7 separate regions of the Homo sapiens genome follow, and regions 2, 3, 4, 5, 6 and 7 are each linked to region 1. Evidence: promoter capture Hi-C in 16 types of primary human blood cells and fetal thymus (Javierre and others, 2016). All regions are on one chromosome and are shown on one strand. The core of a region is centred on a gene start or on the middle of the fragment in contact, and the rest is flanking DNA. Distances in the headings are between cores, read along the strand shown.

Region 1 (3,107 bases), core at 376-2,875:
GCTAAGTGCCTTACATTACCTCATTTAATCACTGCAATAGTCCAGATACTCTCTAGATTGCGAGTGGAGCTTCTTTGTCCAGACCTCATTCAGCTTTGTGCTTTGCCATATGCAGAGACAGCTCCCTACAGAGCAGAAAGCCCCAACTTAAGAGAATGAACCTATGACTTAGTTTAGCCTCCACCAACAAACCACTGTATTACTTCAGGCAGGTCAGCCTCTCTTGCTTCAGTTTACTGATTTGCAAGACAGATATGATAATCTGTGCTTCATGAGACTATGGTGAAGATGAATAACCAGAAGATAAGATGTAAAAGTACTTTGTAAACAATAAGGCATCTTATAAATTCATTCATTCAACAGCTATTTACTGAGTGTCTGTTCCCTGCTGAGCACTGTTTTCAGCACTGCAGACACAATAAAGAACTAAAGAGACAGATCATGAGAGGCATCGGGTGCCACTGCGAGGTCCTTGGCTTTGCTCTAATAAGTTGGGAAGCCTTTGAAGGTTTTGAACAAATGAATGACATGATCTAACTTAGGTTTAAGAGGATTACTCTGGGGCCGTGAATAGACTGTAGGGCAACCCGTCTGGAAGCCAATATAATAATCCAGAAGGTGGATGAAGGTGGCTTGGTGGTTATAGCAGTGGAAGTGTTGAAAGTGGCTTGATAATGAATATATTTTAACGATGAAGCCGACAGAATTTGTGGATAAATCACAGGTGAATTTTGGATGAAAAAAAGAAGAGACAACAGTGACATCAAGGTTTTTGGCTTGAGCAACTGGAAAGATGATGGGATCTTCACCCATCCCTGGGAAGAAGACTGTTGCAAGAACAGGTTAGGTAGATATCAGGAATTCATTTGGGGGGTATGTTAGGTTTGGGATGTCCATTACACATGCAAATGCAGCTCTTGAGTAATCAGTTCGATATACAAGTCTAAAGTTCAATAACATTTATGTCCCACAGTCAGACTGGAGTTACCAATGCGGGAGTCTTCAGCATGCAGCAATAGCATTGGAAGCCAAAAGGCGGAGGAGCTCCCCAGGGAGTGGGGGAACACGGAGGTCAGCTGGTCAGATGACTGAGCACGGCCAGGATGGCTGAGGAGGAGCCTGGAAGGAATAAGAACAAAGAGAGATCATTACTAATGAGCAACAAAAGGGGTGTGTTGAAATCAGACTTTGGAGCCACAAAGAACCATTCCAATTCTGGGTCGTCCGCTTACACACGGTGAACGGAGCACATTTCTTCTCTGAGCCTTGGTTCCTTTCCTGTAAATGGAGTATAACCACTCCCATCTTGCAGGAGCTTTTTGGTGATAATTAAGGTGACTTCGTGAAAAGTACCAGGGTCTCAAAAATCTCAAAATTTGTGGAAAGTATGCAGTTTCTAGGTTGGAGAGGCTAGAGTTTGGTTTCAAAAGCCTCGACCACACACAGGGGCGGTTACAGCTCTTGAGGTCCCGGGGGTCACAGGACGCCTTCCGAGTTGGGGGGAGGAGAAAACAAAACCACAGGAAGAAACGAACAACGCTTTCGGGTGGGCCCGGGACCATAGAGGGTCGCTCCGCCACTTTCCTAGAGCGACCGCGGCGGCGCCAGAGCGCGGCGAGGCCCTCACTTCCGGCGGCGCGGGAGGCGCCCAGCGAGCCAGAGTGGTGGCTGGTCCCGCGCGGTGAGTGGGATTGGGGCACTTGGGGCGCTCGGGGCCTGCGTCGGATACTCGGGTCCGCTCGGGAGCGCGCTGGCCGCAACGAGGGCGGCGCGGGCCCGGGCGATGGCGTGGCTTGCGTCTCCCGCCTCCGGGCAGGGCCTGGCCGCCGGGCGGGGGCGGGAGGGCCACGCGGGCCCAGGGTGGGGCCGCGGCCTGCGCGGCGGGCGGGCCGGGTCAATGAGGAGCGGCCGGCGGAGTGCTGGGAACGGGAGGCTTGGACTGGGGGCCCGGGCGAGGCGCGGCCCGCGGCGGGTGGAACTGGGCGGGTGAGCAGCAGCCCCGGCCCCTTCCGTCGCTCGGAGCGTTCGAGGACTAGATACGTGGAACAAATGCTTAGGCAGCACAGGGCTGCTCTGAGCGGTTTTCAGATTCAGACTCATTGCAACTTCTAACATCTTGATGGTGTTGCCACTTTATCATTACCCTCCCCATTTTACGAGGAAACTGAGGCACATTCCAGTTAGCTGGGTGTGCAAGAACAGCAGCTTCTGTCACTCAGGTTTAACTTCGTGCTTGCCCCTGCTGGGGAGCTATGCAAAGCACGGGTCGCCGCGCTGGACTGAGCAATGGAAGATGTGGCTGCCACTAAGAGTACAGGCTCTGGAGTCAAACTGCTAGGGTCTGGGAACCCGGCCAGTGCCTTCTAGCATTGTGCCCTCGTTTCCTTAACTTAAAACGGAAATAACTGCATAAAGGTGCCAGGAGAATTAAAGAGCTAGCACAGAATCAAGTTACACAGTGTCTGGCACATACTAGTATGATTGCCTCATCCGTAGGTGGATTTGACAGTCTGAGTTTCTGACTAGATCTGACTTCCATTGTATTAAATGCGTGTGCTTTTATGTATAATGACCATTATAGTTATTAAAAAAAAAAAAAAGCAACACCAACACCATGTACCTAACACAATGTCTCCTGTGTGGTAGATGTTCTGTAAATATTTGCTTAAGTTAAGGAGTGGGTAGTCCTAACTGTAATCTTGTGTTATATGCGGCTTACTCTTACGCTGACCATAATTACAGCTGATGTAATTATTAAATATCCAGATAAAGTCCTGGACCTAAAGTCTCAATTATACAATAAGATGAAAGGAAGGCAAGAAAAATTATGTTTTTGTTTTCATTTATTTGCTTTATATGTTTGTATGCAAAGAAACCCAGAATAATTGTTTCTATTTTAAATTCCACATTCTGACACAAGATAATGAAAAATAGTTCCAATAATTTTATTGCTTTTGAAGTTCTAGATTTTCCGACATTGCCACCTATGTGGGGTTTGTAGGGGTTTTTGTTGGTTTGTTTTGGCCGTTATTTTAAATAGCCACAAGTCAGCCTTATAAATAAATAAAATCATTTGAAATTTTGAATTTTGCAGCATTTGGGTATTC
Region 2 (2,862 bases), core at 9-2,508, 1.9 Mb before region 1:
GCCAGAGACGATTGGTTCGCTTGTCAGTGTTGGGTTTTGTTTTGTTTCGTTTTGTTTTTACCTATTCATCACCATCTCTGCTCCTCTCAGTGGATAAACTTTTTAATCAGTGGTGACCTCGTCATCGCGTTAAAATAGTTCTGCCCTCAGCCCCTCTTTATCTGTAGATGGCAGAGCGAGCGCCGGTAAAGATGCTCTGTCGTGGAGGGCTCAGTGGGGCGGAGGAGATGGGGAGCCTCTGGCGTTGTCGGAGAATGCACCTTAAAAATGACTCTACCCTTGAGCAACGCAGGAAGCACGACAGTGATACTTCTGTTTGTGATGATGGTATTGGCGGTATGATAGTTTGATTATACATCTGAAGCTTCTCTTCCTGAGTCCTTGGCTTGTTAAACTTGGAGGTATTTTCTAGCGTGCTTTTGAGATAGATATGGGATGTCGTGACGTTTCACCGTCATTCAAGGCTCGCGGGAGCAGGGCCTTCATGTCTGGTAATTAATGTTGTTTTTTGAATGTTGTATTAAAATAGTAGCTTCGATCTTGGAAGTAAGAAGCCAAGTATTTTAGGACTGAGTGTTAGCGTTCATTTTGTATTATTGTTCTTGTACCATTTGTTTAAAGTTGTCATGTAACTAAAAGAATGAAAAAAGATGGATTTCCAGTATTTGTGGCTCAGAGGATTTTGGCCTAAATAAACACAGTTCCAACCAGTTTAGAAGCTGCATTTTTCTCTTTGTTTTTGTCGAGGCATAAAATACATATGAAATCAATAAGAGCACGAATCTTAATTGTACAGCTCAATGAATTTTTACATACTTATTACCCTGTGGAACCACCAGATATATCAAATTATAACCATAGAACATTTCCATCATCCTATTTTCCTGTGCTTCTTCCAAGTCAGTTATATCCTTGTTTTCCCATCTGTATTCTAACTTCTCTTATCTGCTTTTAGTTTTCTCTGTTTTGAGCTTCATGTTAATGGAATCACGTAGTATTCTCAGCATATTGTTTGTGGGACACACCCATGCTATTTCATGGTATTGTATTATTACTGTGTAATAGTCTATTGAATAATATGTGACTACTCTTCAGTTGATGGACATTTATGTTCCCAATTTTTGTATATGATGTGTTTTGGATATTAAGAATACTGTGGGCCTGGCGTGGTGGCTCAGGCCTTTTATCCCAGCGCTTGGGGAGGCCGAGGCAGGTGGATCACTTGGTCAGGAGTTCGAGACCAGCCTGGCAAACATGGTGAAACCGCATCTCTACTAAAAATACAAAAATTAGCCAGGCGTGGTGGCGGGCGCCTGTAAGCCCAGCTACTTGGGAGGCTGAGGCGGGAGGTGGAGGTTGCAGTGAGCCGAGATCGTGCCACTGCACTCCAGCCTGGACGACAGAGCCTGACTCGGTCTCAAAAAGAAAAGAAAAAAAAAAGAGTACTGTGGACATTCTTGTAAATTAAATGTCTTGGTGAGCATCTGTATGCATTTCTGTCAGCTATAGAATGACTGAGTCATGGCATAAGCAGAAAATTACCAACATGGAGTCATTACCAACCATACCATTACCAACCAAAGGCAGAAAATTTAACCAACATGGAGTCATCTTTTTTTTAATGTAATAGAATTTGTTATTTTAACTAATATAACATTCAAGGTTGGTTTTAAAAAAGCATAACTATTATGAGTTCAAGACGTAAGTGATTCATTCATTACCATGTTATTATTTACCCTTTGAATTGCACATTTATGACTGTCTTCTGTCGGACTGTCATTGTTTGTTTAACTGTTAGACAAGTCTGTTAGAGCTGGTGAGGATCTGACTCTGAAGTTTAGCATAACATTTACTTAAGAACTGTATTACTCAAGTTAGTGGTTTTTTAGAGGAAATGAAATACCAAAAGGATATGACTGAAAGTGGATTGAAGAATCACGGGACTGCAAGTCAAAGAACTTACATTGTTATTGTCATGCTACACAAGCACTAGGTATAAGTGTAAAATTGAATTATAGGGCTAGTTACAAATGTGAATTCACAGCAGGAGTACAGTGATTTTCATATGGACTGAGATACTACTAGCACATTTATAATGTGAACACACAACAAAAATCACTAAACATTTGTGGGAAATCGGTAGCATCTAAGAGAAGCTTCAGACCAAACAAATACAGAACTAGGCACTGAAGCAGTGGAGCTAATGTAAGACAAAAGAAAGCTTTAAAGTAAGTATTAGTATCTTCAAATTTGTTAAGGTATTATGCCTACTGAACACATACAGGCTGCCATGAAAAAAAGCAATTGATTCTTGAATATTTAAACATGGAAAGTAGGAAAGGGCCAGGTGTGGTGGCTCATGCCTGTAATTCCAACACTTTGGAAGGCCGAGGCAGGAGGATCTCTGGATTCCAGGAGTTTGAGAGCAGCCTAGGCAACATAATGAGACCCTGTCTCTACAAATAATTTTTTTTTTTTTTGAGACGGAGTCTGGCTCTGTTGCCCAGGCTGGAGTGCAGTGGCGCCATCTCGGCTTACTGCGAGCTCCACCTCCCAGGTTCACGCCATTCTCCTGCCTCAGCCTCCCGAGTAGCTGGGACTACAGGCGCCCGCCACCATGCCCGGCTAATTTTTGTATTTTTAGTAGAGACGGGTTTCACCATGTTAGCCAGGATAGTCTTGATCTCCTGACCTCATGATCCACCTGCCTCAGCCTCCCAAAGTGTTGGGATTACAGGCGTGAGCCACCGCACCTGGCCACAAATCATTTTTAAAATTAGCAGTATGGTAGTGCACACCTGTCGTCCCAGCTGTTCAGGCAGTGGAGGCTGCCACTGCACTTCAGCCTGGCTGACAGTGAAA
Region 3 (2,964 bases), core at 322-2,821, 1.4 Mb before region 1:
AGTAGTTATATTTTGCATTATGAAGGGCCTGATGGACAACCTGGGACTATTGAACCAATTGTAACTTCTCTACCTATAAATTTATAGGGAAGAGATTTATTACAACAATGGGGAGCACAAGTTCTAATTCCAGAGCAATTATATGGCCCTCAAAGTCAACATATGATGCATGAAATGGGGTATGTCCTTGGTATGGGACTAGAAAAAAATTTGCAAGTTTTGAAGGAACCGCTTCACACAGAAAGACAAAGTTCCTGCCAAGGTTTAGGATATCATTTTTGATGGTGGCCATTGTTAAGCCTCCAGAACCTATACCTTTAAAATGGTTAACAGATAAGCCAATTTGGATAGAATAATGGCCCCCGAGTAAAGATAAACTGGAGGCTTTAGAGGACTTAGTTACTGAACAATTAGAAAAAGGACATGTAGCTCCAACATTTTCCCTTGGAATTCTCCAGTTTTCATAATTAAGAAAAAATCAGGTAAATGGAGAATGTTAACTGTCTTAAGAGCCATTAATTCAGTTATACAACCTATGGGGACATTACAGCCAGGACTGCCTTCTCCTGCTATGATTCCGAAAAATTGGCCTTTAACAGTCATAGACTTAAAAGACTGTTTCTTTGCTATCCCCTTAGCTGAGCAAGACTGTGAACGGTTTGCATTTGCAAATCCTGCGGTGAACAACCTGCAGCCTGCTAAGCATTTTCACTGGAAAGTGTTGCCACAAGGCATGTTAAACAGTCCAACAATTTGCCAGACTTATGTGGGGCAAGCAATTGAATCTACTGGTAAAACATTTTCACAGTGTTACGTTATTCATTATATGGACAATATACTTTGTGCTGCCCCCACTCAAGAAATATTATTCCAAGGTTATGATCACCTGCAAAACTGGGTTTCTTGCACTGGTTTAATTATAGCTCAGGACAAAATTCAGACTACTACTCCCTACTCCTACTTGGGTACCTTAGTAAATGACACTACCATTGTGCCACAGAAAGTAACCATACATAGGGATCAACTGATAACATTAAATGACTTTCAAAAATTACTAGGGGACAGTAATTGCATGCGACGTGCTCTAGGCATTCCTACGTGTGCCATGAGTAATCTATTTTCTATCCTTAGAGGAGATTCTAGTCTCACTAGCCCTTGACAATTAACAAAGGAGGCTGAGGCAGAGTTACAGCGAATTGAAAAGCACGTCCATAAAGCCCAAATAAATAGAATAGACCCAGAGAAGACTCTAGATTTGCTAATTTTTCCAACTCAGCATTCACCTACCCGTATTATTGTCCAGGAGCAGGACTTAGTAGAATAGCTTTTTCTTCCACATACTAATTCACAGACTCTAACTCCTTATTTGGATCAAATCGCTACTATGATAGGAAATGGGAGAACTTGGATTGTTAAATTACATGGATATGATCCTGGAAAAATTATTGTCCCACTCACGAAGACACAAATACAGCAAGCTTTTATAAAATAGTCTTACTTGGCAAATCCATTTAGCTGACTTTGTGGGTATTCTCAATAATCATTTTCCTAAAATGAAACTGTTTCAATTTTTGAAATTAACTAATTGGATTCTGCCTAAAATAACTAAATTTAAACCAATTGACGGTGCTGAGAATGTTTTTACGGAAGGGTCTAGTAATGGTAAAGCTTCTTATTCTGGCTTGAAAGGTAAAGTTTTCCAGATGCCCTATACTTTAGCTCAAAAAGCAGAGCTTGTAGCTGTAATTGAGGTATTGACTACTTTTAATATGCCTATTAATGTGATTTCTGATTCTTCATACATGGTTCATTCCACACAGTTAATTGAAAATGCTCAGTTGCTATTTCATACAGATGAGCAACTGATGACTTTATTTACCCAATTACAAATAGCAGTTAGGAGTAGAATGCACCCTTTTTACATCACTCACATTAGGGCTCATACACCTCTTCCAGGACCTTTGACTGCAGGGAATCAAATGGCTGATCACCTAGTTGCTACCGCAATATCTAATGCCAGGCACTTTCACAATTTAACCCATGTTAATGCCGTTGGTCTCAAACACAGATACAGCATTACCTGGAAAGAAGATAAAGCTATTATCCAGCGATGCCCAACTTGCCAAATGGTGCATTCGTCATCTTTTATAGGAGGAGTTACTCCTCGAGGATTGGAACCTAATTCTTTTTAGCAAATGGACATCACACATGTTCCCTCATTTGGGAGACTAGCTTATGTACATGTATGTGTGGACACCTTTTCTCACTTTGGGCTATATGCCAATCAGGAGAGTCTTCTGCCTGTGTTAAATGTCACCTTTGTAGTGTTTTGCAGTGATGGGCATTCCAGCTTCTATTAAAACAGATAATGCCTCAGGCTATACTAGCCAAGCTCTAGCTACATTTTTCTCTATGTGGAATATTAAGCACATTACTGGCATCCCATATAATTCTCAAGGACAAGCCATAGTAGAAATAATGAATCTCTCCCTGAAACAGCAGTTGAAAAAGCCAAAGAGGAGAAACAGGGACTACAGGACACCCCATATGCAGTTGAATCTAGCATTATTGACTTTAAATTTTTTGAGCCTGCCTAAAGGCCAGATGCTATCGGCAGCTGAACAGCATCTACAGAAACCAACTGCAAAGGCAGAAGCAGGACAACTGGTTTGGTGGAGAGATCCGATAACAAAAAGTTGGGAAATAGGTAAAATAATAACTTGGGGTAGAGGTTATGCTTGTGTTTCTCTAGGACAGAACCAGCAGCCACTTTGGATACCATCAAGACACCTGAAATCTTATCATGATCCAGATGCTGAGGAAGAGATTCTGGGAGGATCCCCAGGACCCCCCCGGTTGCAGCCATGTCAAGACTGATGCGAGGAGGACCCCAACTGTCACAAGCAACATCTGTCGAACACAGCCACCTACCTGGGGACAGATCAAGAAGCTGTCACAGATGGT
Region 4 (2,893 bases), core at 158-2,657, 1.4 Mb before region 1:
AGCTTTCTGTTCAAGGTCACTGGTCTCCATTCTGAGGAAGAGGGCTGGAAAAGGAGGCTCAAGCCCCGGAGTAAAGGTGGGACAAACAAACAGAAGCAAAGGTTGCTGCCTTCAAGCTCCATCACCACATCCTTTAGCAAGGCATGACCCATGGCATATTAAAAGCAAGTGGACTGGCTGCTCTTCCCAACCAGACCTTCTCTTCAGACCACAGAGAAAAAAAAATTTCTTTCTGTTTAAGGCTAATCTCTTCCTGTGCATTCTAGATCAAATCCCTTCTTCTATCTTCAGAGATGCAAGCCCACCAATTATCTTTTCTCTCCCTTATTTTTTTATCCGTCTTCCATTCAGTTGTCTGGATTGTCTAATCCTCCTTCTCTACCTCAACAATATTCAAACCATTTCAGATCCTGTCAATTCTGCCTCCTAAATTTCCCTCCAATGTGTTACCTCTTTTCCATTTCCACTGCCAGTCTTAGTAAGACCCTTATTTTTTTTCTTACCTAGGCTACAATAACTCCTTACCAATTCTTTGTAGTACAATTTTTGTCATCTTCCAGTCCCTAGGTTAGACAACCAGAGTTATTAATTTTTTAAGGTCCTCAAGATAAAATGGCAGGCGGGACTCCATTCTGAGAAGGGAAAGGATATGTTGGTGGACTACTAACTTTGTGGTAGGTAAAAAAAATGACAGGAGTAGACCAAATGAAAAGAATCATTGTGACAAGGGAAAGGAGAAAAGGAAAGGAAATTAGTGCTCCTGTTAAAGCAAGACAAAGGTGGGACTGAAACACTGAATAATCAACAGTCTTCCCAGGTATCAGTGGCACTAAGGAGTCACTCCAAGGCTGTGCTCCTGCTTACAGTTGGGAGAGCAGACTTGATATTCTAAAGGCCAACCAAAGAGGAAGGTCACAAGTTCAATTGTTTCCTGTTTCTATCAGACAAATGTCGACCTCCTCAGAACTACATACATGCCATCATGTGGCCTTCCACTTCTTTCTAGAGCCCATCTCTGCTGTATCTAACAATTTACTTTGAAGTGGAAAAGCAGGAAGAGGCACACTAGATTACCTGGAGTCATTCAACACATTACACTTGAGTCTAGCACAGTCCTTTCTATAGTAAGCCCTAACTTATTGAGTTCTCCCATCCATTTTGGAGCTTTCAGTCTCAGGACAATAGCCTCTTTCTGAAGCATGAGGATGAGTTAGAATTCTCCTCCTCTGAGATCTCATAGCATCTTTCACATCCCTCTACTATAGCTATTAAGTCTCTCCCAAGTTGGCTGGAAGATTCTGAAGGATAGGGGCTACACTCAACTCATCTTTGTTGTTTGAAACAGAGTCTCACTCTGTTGCCCAGGCTGGAGTGCAGTGGCATGATCTCAGCTCACTACAACCTCCACCTCCCGGGTTCAAGAGATTCTCCTGCCTCAGCCTCCCGAGTAGCTGGGATTACAACAGGCATCAACATGACCAGCTAATTTTTGTATTTTTAGTAGAGATGAGGTTTCACTATGTTGGCCAGGCTGGTCTCAACTCCTGACCTCAGGTGATCCTCCCCACTCAGTCTCCCAAAGTACTGGGATTACAGGTGTGAGCCACCATGTCTGGCCTCAACTCATCTTTAAATCCCCAGCAACTACCACAATTGACTTGGAATCTGAAAGATAAATATAAATTCACATTCAATTTAAATGAATAATAATACAACTAAAAGAAAACATAAAGATGGTCAAGCCCAAGACCCTCAGTTTACAGAGAAAAAAACCACAGTTCATAAGGGCGAAGTGACTTACCCAATGTCACAGAGGAAAAGCAGGGTTAACTAAGACTCCCGCCTTTCAGCAGACCTAAGGACAATGTGTGGTACATAGAAAACACACAATGCTTGGAATGAAGTCCTTCCTTTAAATTAAAAAAGTTGTTGTGTAACACACACCAGAATCTCAAAATTTACTAAACTGGCAATCCCCAGTTGCAGCGGCAGTGAATACTTAATCATTAGGGAGCAGGCAGAAGCGAAGGAAGGAAAATGTATTGATTCTACTAAGGTTAATCTCCCTTGAAGTCCTCAATTACTTTTCAGGGCACAGAGAAGCCATGCTCTCAGTACCTCAAGTCAGCTTACTGTCCTCTAAACAGATTTTTTCTAAGAGCTCATGTGTGTGAGGGCTGTATTTGCCAAGCAAAAAGATGGCCTTTGCTGGTAGTGTTAAAAAACATTTTTTTTCCCTTAAAACGCAGTCTGATATTTTATTCAAACAACTTCTGATGTGATGACCTGTTTAGTTAATGGAGAAAGAACAGCCTGAAGGAAGAAAACACGGGGTTTATTTCTGGCCTTCTGCTCTCTGAAACAAAGGACAAGGCACTTTCCTTCGGCTCTCTCAGAGTTAGCCGAGTTAGAGCTCTCCACCATAAAACGCCAGGACAGGGCAAAGAGGGGGCCGACCATCTCAAACACCATGGGATTCTAAGTGGGGGCTGACCATCTCAAATACCCTGGGAGTCTAAGGGTTAATTTTGAGGTAACCTCCTACAGATGGTTTTATGGGGACAACTGAAAACTCTCTTTAAAAAAGTACGACTTGGTAATTTAAAATTTACTGGAACAGTTAAATATGTAGACATGCTAGTGAAAGAGAACAAATCAACCTGAGTATAAAGGATGAATAACTCATTTTACCTACCCTAGAGACACTTATAGTGTATAGAGAGATATTTCACAATAAACCTTTGGATGTACAAAGATCAACAGAATAAAAAAGGAGTGAAACTCTCCTTTCACTAGGTCTGGAAGAGAGAAGGAAGCTTAGTTCTTAAAAAACACCACAGAGAGTTCTGATGCATAGCCTAGTTGAAAAGCATTTCTAGAGTGATTTTGTAAC
Region 5 (2,732 bases), core at 175-2,674, 1.6 Mb after region 1:
TAAAAGGCCACCATTTTTAGGCTTAAATACTGCTAATCTAAAGGAGGTTGAGCATCACTAAACCAAAAACCCAGAAATCCAAAATGCTCTAAAATCCAAAACTTCTTGAGCACACATGATGCTCATTGGAGCATTTCAGATTTTGGATTTTCAGATTAGGGATGTTCAGCCAGGATAATGCAAATATTCCAAAATCTGAAATATGAAACACTCTGGCCCCGAGCATTTCAGATAAGGGATACCCAACCTGTACTTGCCCCAGAGGATAACTAGCCACAAATAGGCAGAAAGCCAACTGAGATTTTAAGGGGCATGTGTTACCAAAGAACCATGAGTCTGGCTGGTACAAGTCTGCATTTTTGACTCCTTAAATCAACCGACCCCTACCCACCAAACCTGCACCTGCAAAAAGTGGGCTGCAAAAGCTATGCAGCCCAGGCCCAGTGTGGTGGCATGTGCCTGTAGTCCCTGCTGCTCTGAAGGCTGAAGTGGGAGGATTGCCTGAGCCCCAGGCACTCGAGTCCAGCCTGGGCAACACAGCAAGACCTTCTCTCTAAAAAAAAATGTTTAAGCTGTATAGCCCTAAGAGGGATACACCGTTTGATGCCCTTTAGTTGTGCCATGGAAGGCAGTGGACAAAGAGGGGACCACCAAGGTCCAAAGATGTCTATCCCAGGGAATACTCCTGGAGAGAGGCGCTGTCATCCAAGGACTCTGCTCCACTCCCTGGGAGCCTTCACAATTTCTGCCCACCAGGATTTGGTGGGTGTGTTTTTCCCTCTTCTGGATGAGGTTTCCCACCATGTTTATCTTATTTTTACTGGCTGTTGCATATTGGGTGTAAGGAGGCAGGCAATGTATGTAAGGGTTCCGGGGCAACACACCATAAAGAACTGCATCCAGAAGCCTGGTGTGGTGGCTCACACCTGTAAACCCAGCACTTCGGGAGGCCAAGATGGGAGGATTGCTTGAGCCCGGGAGTTCGAGACCAGCCTGGGCAACATAGTGAGAACTTGTCTAAAAAAACAAAAATAAAACAAAAACCACATCAGATCTGATGGTGCAGGCTGTCCCTCCACAGGTCCCAGGCTTGGAGCTGGACATAGGCACTGGATGCAACTTTAGGGTTGTCTCCCCTGGGGAGGGGACACATGGAAATTTGACTGGCCAATGGGACAGGCTGGGGCTGAGATTGCTAATTGCCCCCGATCACACTCATCTCCTATGTTTAAAGAATTCTTGTTTTTTATCTGGAGATACGGAAATCCAGAAAAAAAATACTGTATTTCCTCACTTCCTAGAAGCTATATTTGGCCAAGTAACTGACCAGCAGCATTGAAGTAGGGAGAGGTGACACTTTTAACCAGAGGGGCGAGCCCTCCTCTTCCGCCTTTTCCGTTTCCACTGGCTAGGCAGTGGAGGTGATGGTGAAACATCTCACATCACAATACCTAGGGATAGAGAAGCAACAAGATGGGGAAAAAAAAACCTGGGCTCCCAGGCTGCTTACCTGCAGGCAGGTGAGGGAGAAAGAAACTTCTATCTTGCTTAAGCCAATCTTATTTGAAGTCTCTCTTCCAGCAGTTCAACATATATTCCACAAAGATATTACTCACACTCTACCTCCTCTACGCTCATGTGGGTCTTAGAGGAGGGGTGTATGCTAGGCCTCAGCCAATCACTGTATCAGTTTCCTGGCCAGAGATTGTTCAGGATAAGTGTGTACCCCACTTAGATCCAATGATAAATACTTTATCTGGGAATCTGGAGAAAGAAACTCATTCTATTCCCCAAGGGAATGTGGCGATGAAGCCACCATCTTACATGAAGCCGGATACTGGAGCCGCCCAGAGAAGGACAAAGTGAGGATGTGCAGAAGCAAGTTCCCGAGAACATCCCGGGAGCCTTGACCTCAGTGAGGACTAAGGCTAGTCTCATCCCTTGACATCTCAATTAAGGAAGACAATACATTTCCTTTTTTAAAAACCAATTTGCATTATATTTCCATCCTTTGCTACCAAAAGTGTCCTTAGTGATACGCTGGTCACCGTGGGAGGGTTACAGAGGCAACATGGAAGGGGGATGTCTGCTTTGGTCTCAGACCACCTGCAACTTGTTTGGGGGAAAAAATGGGTTTGTTATAAGGATGCATGAGGATTTGAACCAGAATTGAAAAGTCCTCAGGAATAGGCGAGACAACTTCAGAAATAGCCATTGCTCCCTCTCTTCATGGAGCTTCCTAGACAGGTTTCCTCCTGACTGTGCTCTGCCAGCTCTTTCCACCAACTGGCGCCCTCTCCTGATGCTGAATTTCTGCTGCTTTGAAACTGAGTTGCCACCACGCCAGCTCCTCCTAGTGGCACCTCTTCACATATCCTTCATGCTTCTTCCCTTGCAGCTGGCTGTCTCGCTCCTGCCCTGTTTCTCAACTTCCAATTTAAAAAAGAGAAATTGGATAGACATAGGTCATCTTTAATGCCAGAGGAAAACTCACAAATCCTGACCAGCCTGATTCAGAGCCTGAGTCAGGTGTTTGCTTGCTCTTGTCCAACTGTTACATGATCTAAAATAGGGCCACCTGCTGGCTGTCTCCTCCTCTAGGGCTGCGGGCATGGCAGGTACCACCACTGATGTGTCTTGTATGCCTACACAGAATTATTGTATTAGGCAATACTCTTCTGACTTCAAGAGGCAGAAACCCAACTCAAATTGGCTTAAGCACCAAAGGGACT
Region 6 (2,763 bases), core at 220-2,719, 1.5 Mb after region 1:
CGCACAAGTGAGCAAAGGCGGCATTCACCCAACTCTTGGGACAAGGCAGTCAGACCCCACCACCCATCCCCAATCCTATGGGCCCACGTCACTTTGGTTTCGCTTGTTTTTTTTTTTAGTAAACATCAGCTTTCCTCAGGTGTTCTTCTGCTTTATTATTCCCGTGTAGCCACAGCAACAGAACTGGCCCCATGTCTCTCAATCAGGGAGGTCCCCAGCCAGCTTTGGAAAGACACCCATCAAAAAGAGTGAGCAAACCTAAAGAAGGGTTCAATAGGGAAGGTACCAGCGGCCGGCTGCAGAGGGGCTCCATTCCCCTGACCCTCAGTCACTTCCCAGAAACCACACAGAGGAGCCCGGGTGTGCCAGAAACAGCCTTTCATAATACAAGATGGACAGGAAAGAGGCCAAGGGCAGGCAGTTCCCAATCTCCACAAGGGCAAGAAGGTAGAGTCCATACTTCTTTCTTGTCTTTTTCTTTTTTTGAAACAGGGTCTGGCTCCGTCATCCAGGCTGGAGCACAGTGGCACTATCTCGGCTCACTGCAACCTCCACCTCCTGGGCTCAAGCCATCTTCCCACCTCAACCCCCTGAGTAGCTGAGGCTACAGATGCACACCACCATGCCCAGCTAATTTTTGTATTTTTTGTAGAGATGGGATTTCTCCATGCTGCCCAAGCTGGTTTCGAACTCCTGAGCTCAAGCAGTCAGCCCACCTCAGCCTCCCAAAGTGCTGGGATTACAGGCATGAGCCACTGTACCAGGCTGAGTCCACACTTCTAAGCTTGCTGTTGCTCTCAGACTTGCAGAACAACCTATTAAACAGAAGTAGGTAAAAGTTGAGAAAGGGAAGTGGCCACCACAGAACCAGTTCTGCTGAGAACGAGGACTCGAGTCAGGCTATGCTACCCTCCTTCCATGGCCATGGGAAAAAGGGGTGTGTGCTGTTGGTGTGAGAGATCTGGATCTTAACAGATCAGACTTAAACTAATTTGCCCATGATGACCGTGTGGATTTGGAGGGACCTGGGAATCTCACAGACCTATGGGATGTCCCAGTGATATGTCCTGGGCTTCATACCAGCCCTGCCCTGCCTGACAAGTTGGATGAAAACTGATAAAGGACTTGTCATAGCTTCAGATGGCAAAACCAGGCCAGGCCAGAATGAAAAAGGAGAAGGAATTTAACATGGGCAAATGCCAAGCTCTGCATTTAACTAACCAAGGCTGCTTGGCGTGAACAAAACTGAGACAGAGCAATGCATGGAGAAAAGGGTTGGGCATTTGTGGGCTACAAGCTTGGCATGACATGGATGCAAATGTCAATGGGTGCACCCCCAGATGCCTGTGACTCCCTCTGGTGGTTTCTGTGCACAACTTCCCCCAAAATAGGCCCTACGACTCCAGCAGAAACCTACCCTGGGGCTCCTAGAGCTTCCTAGCCTGCCTGCCAGAGAGCAGAAGTGCCTGGAGGCTACATCTTCACCCCTGGGTAGTCCTTACTCTGAGGTGGGACTGCATCCAGGGCTCCCCTTTAGGGTCTGACTTGGACTGAAATCACACCCTGCCTTGCCTTCTGCCCCTCCCTTAACTTGCTCTCCCCTCCCTAATAACTCCAGCATCCTCATCTCAGCAGAAGCTTCTGGGGAACCCAGCCCAAGATGAGTGGTGAGGGCTAGGGTAGCCCTCCTCAATGCACTCTGGGAACTACATTTTCAGAAGCCCCAGCCAGAGGGCCAAGTCCCAGGCAGGGTGCAAAGCTGTGGGGCGAGGAACCTGGAAAGAGGCTCTGAACAAGGGACTTTTAAGGAAGTGGGATGTGGGCTGTGATCACAGCCAAGCTGGCAGGGTAAGAGGTGGCCCCTGAATGTGGCTATGAGAGGGGTGCCCAACACTACCAGCCTGTGTGCTGAGCACTAACTCAGTGCCAGGCACTACTTGGGTTATTCTATTTAATCTCCACACCAAGCATGTGAAGGAGGCACCATTGTCATCCCCATCTTACAGATGAGGAAGATGATCAAGGCTTGTAACTTGCCCAAGATCACATGGCTATAGGTGTGGATCCTATATATCCAGATTCAAACTCCAGCTTTAGCCCACTAAGCTACGGTGGCCAACCCCAGCCCAAAGTGTTGGGACCTGCGTGTAGAAGACCCCTTCAGCCCTTGTAAAGTTAGGATCTAGCATGTCTAAGGGGACAGAGACCCAATCCAGGTGACACAGGAGGTAAGATCACAGTGGAACAGGCCATCCCTGCTTTTCCACCACCACCAGCACTGTGACCTCAGACCAGCTCTACTCTATGAGTTTCTTGTGACAGTGATGGCAGCCTGGGGCCAGACAAGGGATGCGTGTCTTGTGTCCTGGACACAAGACAGGCAGGCCCAGAGGGGACAAGCTATATGAAGAGAGGCTTCAGCTGTCGGGGGTCCTGAATGCCATGGAAGGAGAGCAGGTGGGCAGAAGCAGGGAGCCCCTGGAGCAGACAGAGGGGGGATTCCTGCTGAGGCAAGGGGCTCTAGGACTCCAGGGTTTATGCTCCAAAGAACAGAATTTACCAGGACAAAATAAACAAGACCAGTCAGGACCGATGCCCCATCCCTGCTGGGGTCTGGCAAAGCTCTCACCTCCAAATTTGTATCTGTTTTGAATTCAAAGCCAAACAAACACATCAACAGTGAACTCCAACACCTCCCAGAGCAGGGCCTGAAAGGGACCCAGAAAGTCTGGCCAGAAATCTAGAGTCCAAGGGGAGGAGATC
Region 7 (2,887 bases), core at 295-2,794, 1.6 Mb before region 1:
AAGGAAAAAAAAAAGGACGACTAAGCTGAAGAGCGCGCACGAGTCAGATTTTCACCCCAAATACAAACACGATACCTCTAGGAGCAGGAGACCAATACAGGGACCGCGCTCCGAGGACACGCGGCGCAGCCGAGGAGGAAAAAGGGCCCGGGGCCGAGAGCTAAGGCTACGGGAACCGGGCGTGGGAGGAGGGCGGAGCCAACTCCCCACAAGGAAGTCTTGTGCAACTCTCAGGCGCCTGCAGCCACGTGAGCGCGCGGCTTTCATTTTACTCAGGTATTATTACTATTATTACTTCTTTTGAGACAAGGTCTCATTTCCGTCGCCCGGCTGGAATGCAGTGGCACAATCACTGTCACTGCAGCCTCGACCTCAGAGCAAGCGACCCTCCCGCCTCAGCCTCCCGAGTAGCTGGGACAACAGGCGCGCGCCACCACACGTGGCTAATTTTTTTTTCTTTACTTTTCAGTAGAGACAGTCTATGTTGCCCAGGCTTGTCGGGAACTCCTGGGCTCAAGAGATCCTCCCGGCTGGGCCTCCCACTGCGCCAGGCCTGTTCTCACTTTCAGAGCCCTCCGGCAGTCGCCAGCTCCCCGCCAGGGGGCCGGACTAACGCACCCGGCCGTCCGTGCCTTCCCCGCGCTTTCCTGACTCCAAAATCTCAGCCCGCGGTGCTCACCGCGTGGGACCACTGTCTGGGCGTGCGGCTCTCGACCTCCGACGCTGCGTCTCCCGATCCCAGTGGGTCCAGTTCTTGCCGGTCCCACGTACGGGCCCCTCGACCTCGAATCCCGTCACCCAAATCTCAGCGCCACGGCCCCTCATTATGTGCAGTCCTCGCTCGGTCCCAGGTTTGCGGCGCTTAAACTCAGATCGCTCTTCCCTGATCCCAAATCCCAGCCCCAGCCCAACGATCCCCACCCCAATAGGCCCAGTCCCCAGGTAGTCCGGGTACGGGGCCCTGGACTTCGGATAGTCTCCCTAATCTCAAATCCCACCCCCCGTCCCCACCCCCAGGGGGACCCGGTCCCCGCTAGGTCCCGGGTGTGCGGCCTTCGACCTCGGAGACTTCGGCCGCCCCTCACCTCGGCCTCCGAGTCTCTACACTCCCGCTCTCATATCAGGCACCCCGGTGGTCCCTTGGAGCACCTAGAGGAGGGTGGGACGCGGGGAACTTGGCAGTTGTAGCAGAGGCAGTTGAGGCTTGTTGACCATCACCATGGAAACCCCCGCCTGCGAGCACGGGGCGGAGCCTACGAGGGGCGGGGTCAGGCGCGCTGCCGGCCCCAATCCTCAGCGCCTGCCCGTCGAGCGCACGCGGCTTTGCCGGAAGCCCTCCTGCTCCCGGCGAGCCAGGCCCCGACTAGGCCCTACTGCCCGGCTCAGCCCTTTGCCCTGGACACCAGGAAACAGAAGCCCAAGGAGCCCGCGTCCCCACCCCCTGCTACCTGCCGGCGTGACAGCGATTCGGTGGCCCCCCGAACCCCACCTTGAGGAAGACGCGGCGCAGTCCTGCTTCCACGACGGAGCCGGAAGGACGCAAGGACCGCGGCAGGGCGGAGTTTCTGCGTCCGGCGTCCGGGGGCGGGGCCGCGACGGCGCATTGTGACGCGCCAGAGCTGAGCCGCCGGTTGGCCGGCTGGGCGCGGAGCAGAGCCGACACGGCTGGCGGGGGAGGCGGTGGAGGCGGACAAGCGAGGACGTTTCTGGAGAGGAGAAGGGAGGGGAGGGGAGGGGATAGGGGGAGGGGGAGGAGGAGGAGGGAGTGGAGCGGCGGGAAAGATCCCTCTGACTGCCCCTGAGGCCCTGGAGGAAGGACACTGGTGAGCCCCGCAGGACACTGAAATGTGCGCCGAAAGGACGCCTGATGGAAGACTAGGATGGGAAAAGGAAATGAGAGCCGATGGCAGGGCGTGGTGGCGCAAGCCTGTGGTCCCAGTAATTTGGGAGGCTAAGGCGGGAGAATCGCTTGAGCCCGGGAGGTCGAGGCTGCAGTGATCCGTGACTGCTCCATTGCGTCCAGCCTGGGCGACAGAGCGAGGCGCTGTCTCAAAAAATAAAATAAGGAAAGTAGTACACTGAAGGCCGGGCGCGGTGGCTCACGCCTGTAATCCCACCACTTTGGGAGGCCGAGGCGGACGGATCAGGCGGTCGGGAAATCGAGACCATCCTGGCCAACATAGTGAAACCCCTACTAAAATACAAAAAAATTAGCCAGGCGTGGTGGCGCGCGCTTGTAGTCCCAGCCACTCGGGTGGCTGAGGCAGGGGAATCGCTTGAACCCGGGAGGCGGAGCTTGCGTGAGCCGAGATCGCGCCACTGCACTCCAGCCTAGCGACAGAGCGAGACTACGTCTCAAAGAAAAAAAAAAAAAAAAGGTACACTGAGTACTCCGGAGACCGCCTAAAGGGGTCTCAGAGCAGGGCGTTAGGAGGGATTTGTCAGGTTGAAGTTGCTCAGGTGATAAATTCCGTGGTGTGAGAAGCCCCCAAACCTCAGAATGTAACTCAGACCCAGGTCGAGGGCAAGATTTTCAGTCACAGAGCACCTGAACACACAGATTTGGTGGCTAATGGCTAAGCCAGGGACAGATTTTCTTTCTTTTCTTTTTTTTTTTGATGTATTGTAGGGCTAATAATTGTAACCATTTTATTTTGGTGGATCTTCTTCATGAAGAGATGATGTCAAGGCACTCATCACAGGTTAAGCTGAACATTGTTACTATTGTTATTATTTCCAGACTGAGTATCGCCCTGTCATTCAGGCGGGAGTGCAGTGGTACAATCACGGCTCACTGCAGCCTCGACCTCCTGGGCTCAAGCGATCCTCCTGCCTCAACCTCCTGAGTAGCACCACCACTCTCGGCTAAATTTTGTATTTTTTGTAG

The links. Contacts are between HindIII fragments. The CHiCAGO score rates a contact against its expected background, and 5 or more counts as called.
Region 2: a contact is called between a fragment that was not itself captured here and the fragment with the promoter of ZNF22 in region 1, in 8 of 17 cell types (naive CD8 T cells, total CD8 T cells, activated CD4 T cells and 5 more). The highest score is 14.4, in naive CD8 T cells.
Region 3: a fragment that was not itself captured here is called in contact with the fragment with the promoter of ZNF22 in region 1 in 1 of 17 cell types (naive B cells); the score reaches 6.8 in naive B cells.
Region 4: a fragment that was not itself captured here is called in contact with the fragment with the promoter of ZNF22 in region 1 in 7 of 17 cell types (naive CD8 T cells, activated CD4 T cells, total CD8 T cells and 4 more); the score reaches 13.0 in naive CD8 T cells.
Region 5: a contact is called between a fragment that was not itself captured here and the fragment with the promoter of ZNF22 in region 1, in 1 of 17 cell types (total B cells). The highest score is 5.2, in total B cells.
Region 6: a contact is called between a fragment that was not itself captured here and the fragment with the promoter of ZNF22 in region 1, in 1 of 17 cell types (total B cells). The highest score is 5.2, in total B cells.
Region 7: a contact is called between the fragment with the promoter of HNRNPF here and the fragment with the promoter of ZNF22 in region 1, in 5 of 17 cell types (fetal thymus, M0 macrophages, naive CD8 T cells and 2 more). The highest score is 8.0, in fetal thymus.

Annotation. Positions count from the first base shown.
Region 1 is chr10:44,999,298-45,002,404 of GRCh38, forward strand. ZNF22 (zinc finger protein 22) reads left to right here and starts at 1,626. Exons shown (of 2, transcript NM_006963.5): 1 at 1,626-1,681. It overlaps LOC124902530, which reads left to right. Exons shown (of 3, transcript XM_047426129.1): 3 at 1,483-3,086. The coding sequence ends at 2,112. It overlaps ZNF22-AS1 (ZNF22 antisense RNA 1), which reads right to left and starts at 1,506. Exons shown (of 4, transcript NR_126421.2): 1 at 1,233-1,506; 2 at 989-1,119; 3 at 20-125. RefSeq lists a silencer at 1,666-2,015 and an enhancer at 1,742-2,242. The HindIII fragment of the contact is 6,687 bases long and covers 1-3,107 here.
Region 2 is chr10:43,138,756-43,141,617 of GRCh38, forward strand. The region is part of intron 1 of CSGALNACT2 (chondroitin sulfate N-acetylgalactosaminyltransferase 2); the gene reads left to right. Among named protein-coding and RNA genes, the nearest start is that of CSGALNACT2, 1.7 kb to the left of the region's middle. RefSeq lists silencers at 1-46, 157-226. The HindIII fragment of the contact is 1,792 bases long and covers 363-2,154 here.
Region 3 is chr10:43,587,543-43,590,506 of GRCh38, forward strand. No RefSeq gene overlaps it. Among named protein-coding and RNA genes, the nearest start is that of ZNF239, 14 kb to the left of the region's middle. The HindIII fragment of the contact is 190 bases long and covers 1,477-1,666 here.
Region 4 is chr10:43,570,239-43,573,131 of GRCh38, forward strand. The region is part of intron 2 of ZNF239 (zinc finger protein 239); the gene reads right to left. Among named protein-coding and RNA genes, the nearest start is that of ZNF239, 2.9 kb to the right of the region's middle. The HindIII fragment of the contact is 2,814 bases long and covers 1-2,814 here.
Region 5 is chr10:46,563,441-46,566,172 of GRCh38, forward strand. No RefSeq gene overlaps it. Among named protein-coding and RNA genes, the nearest start is that of GPRIN2, 8.1 kb to the left of the region's middle. The HindIII fragment of the contact is 7,183 bases long and covers 1-2,732 here.
Region 6 is chr10:46,543,857-46,546,619 of GRCh38, forward strand. It overlaps GPRIN2 (G protein regulated inducer of neurite outgrowth 2), which reads right to left. Exons shown (of 3, transcript NM_001385282.1): 3 at 1-2,763. Among named protein-coding and RNA genes, the nearest start is that of GPRIN2, 11 kb to the right of the region's middle. The HindIII fragment of the contact is 341 bases long and covers 1,300-1,640 here.
Region 7 is chr10:43,407,642-43,410,528 of GRCh38, forward strand. HNRNPF (heterogeneous nuclear ribonucleoprotein F) reads right to left here and starts at 1,545. Exons shown (of 4, transcript NM_001098204.2): 1 at 1,490-1,545. RefSeq lists enhancers at 55-114, 255-304, 272-875, 315-654, 1,385-1,444 and silencers at 1,165-1,284, 1,735-1,964. The HindIII fragment of the contact is 6,154 bases long and covers 1-2,887 here.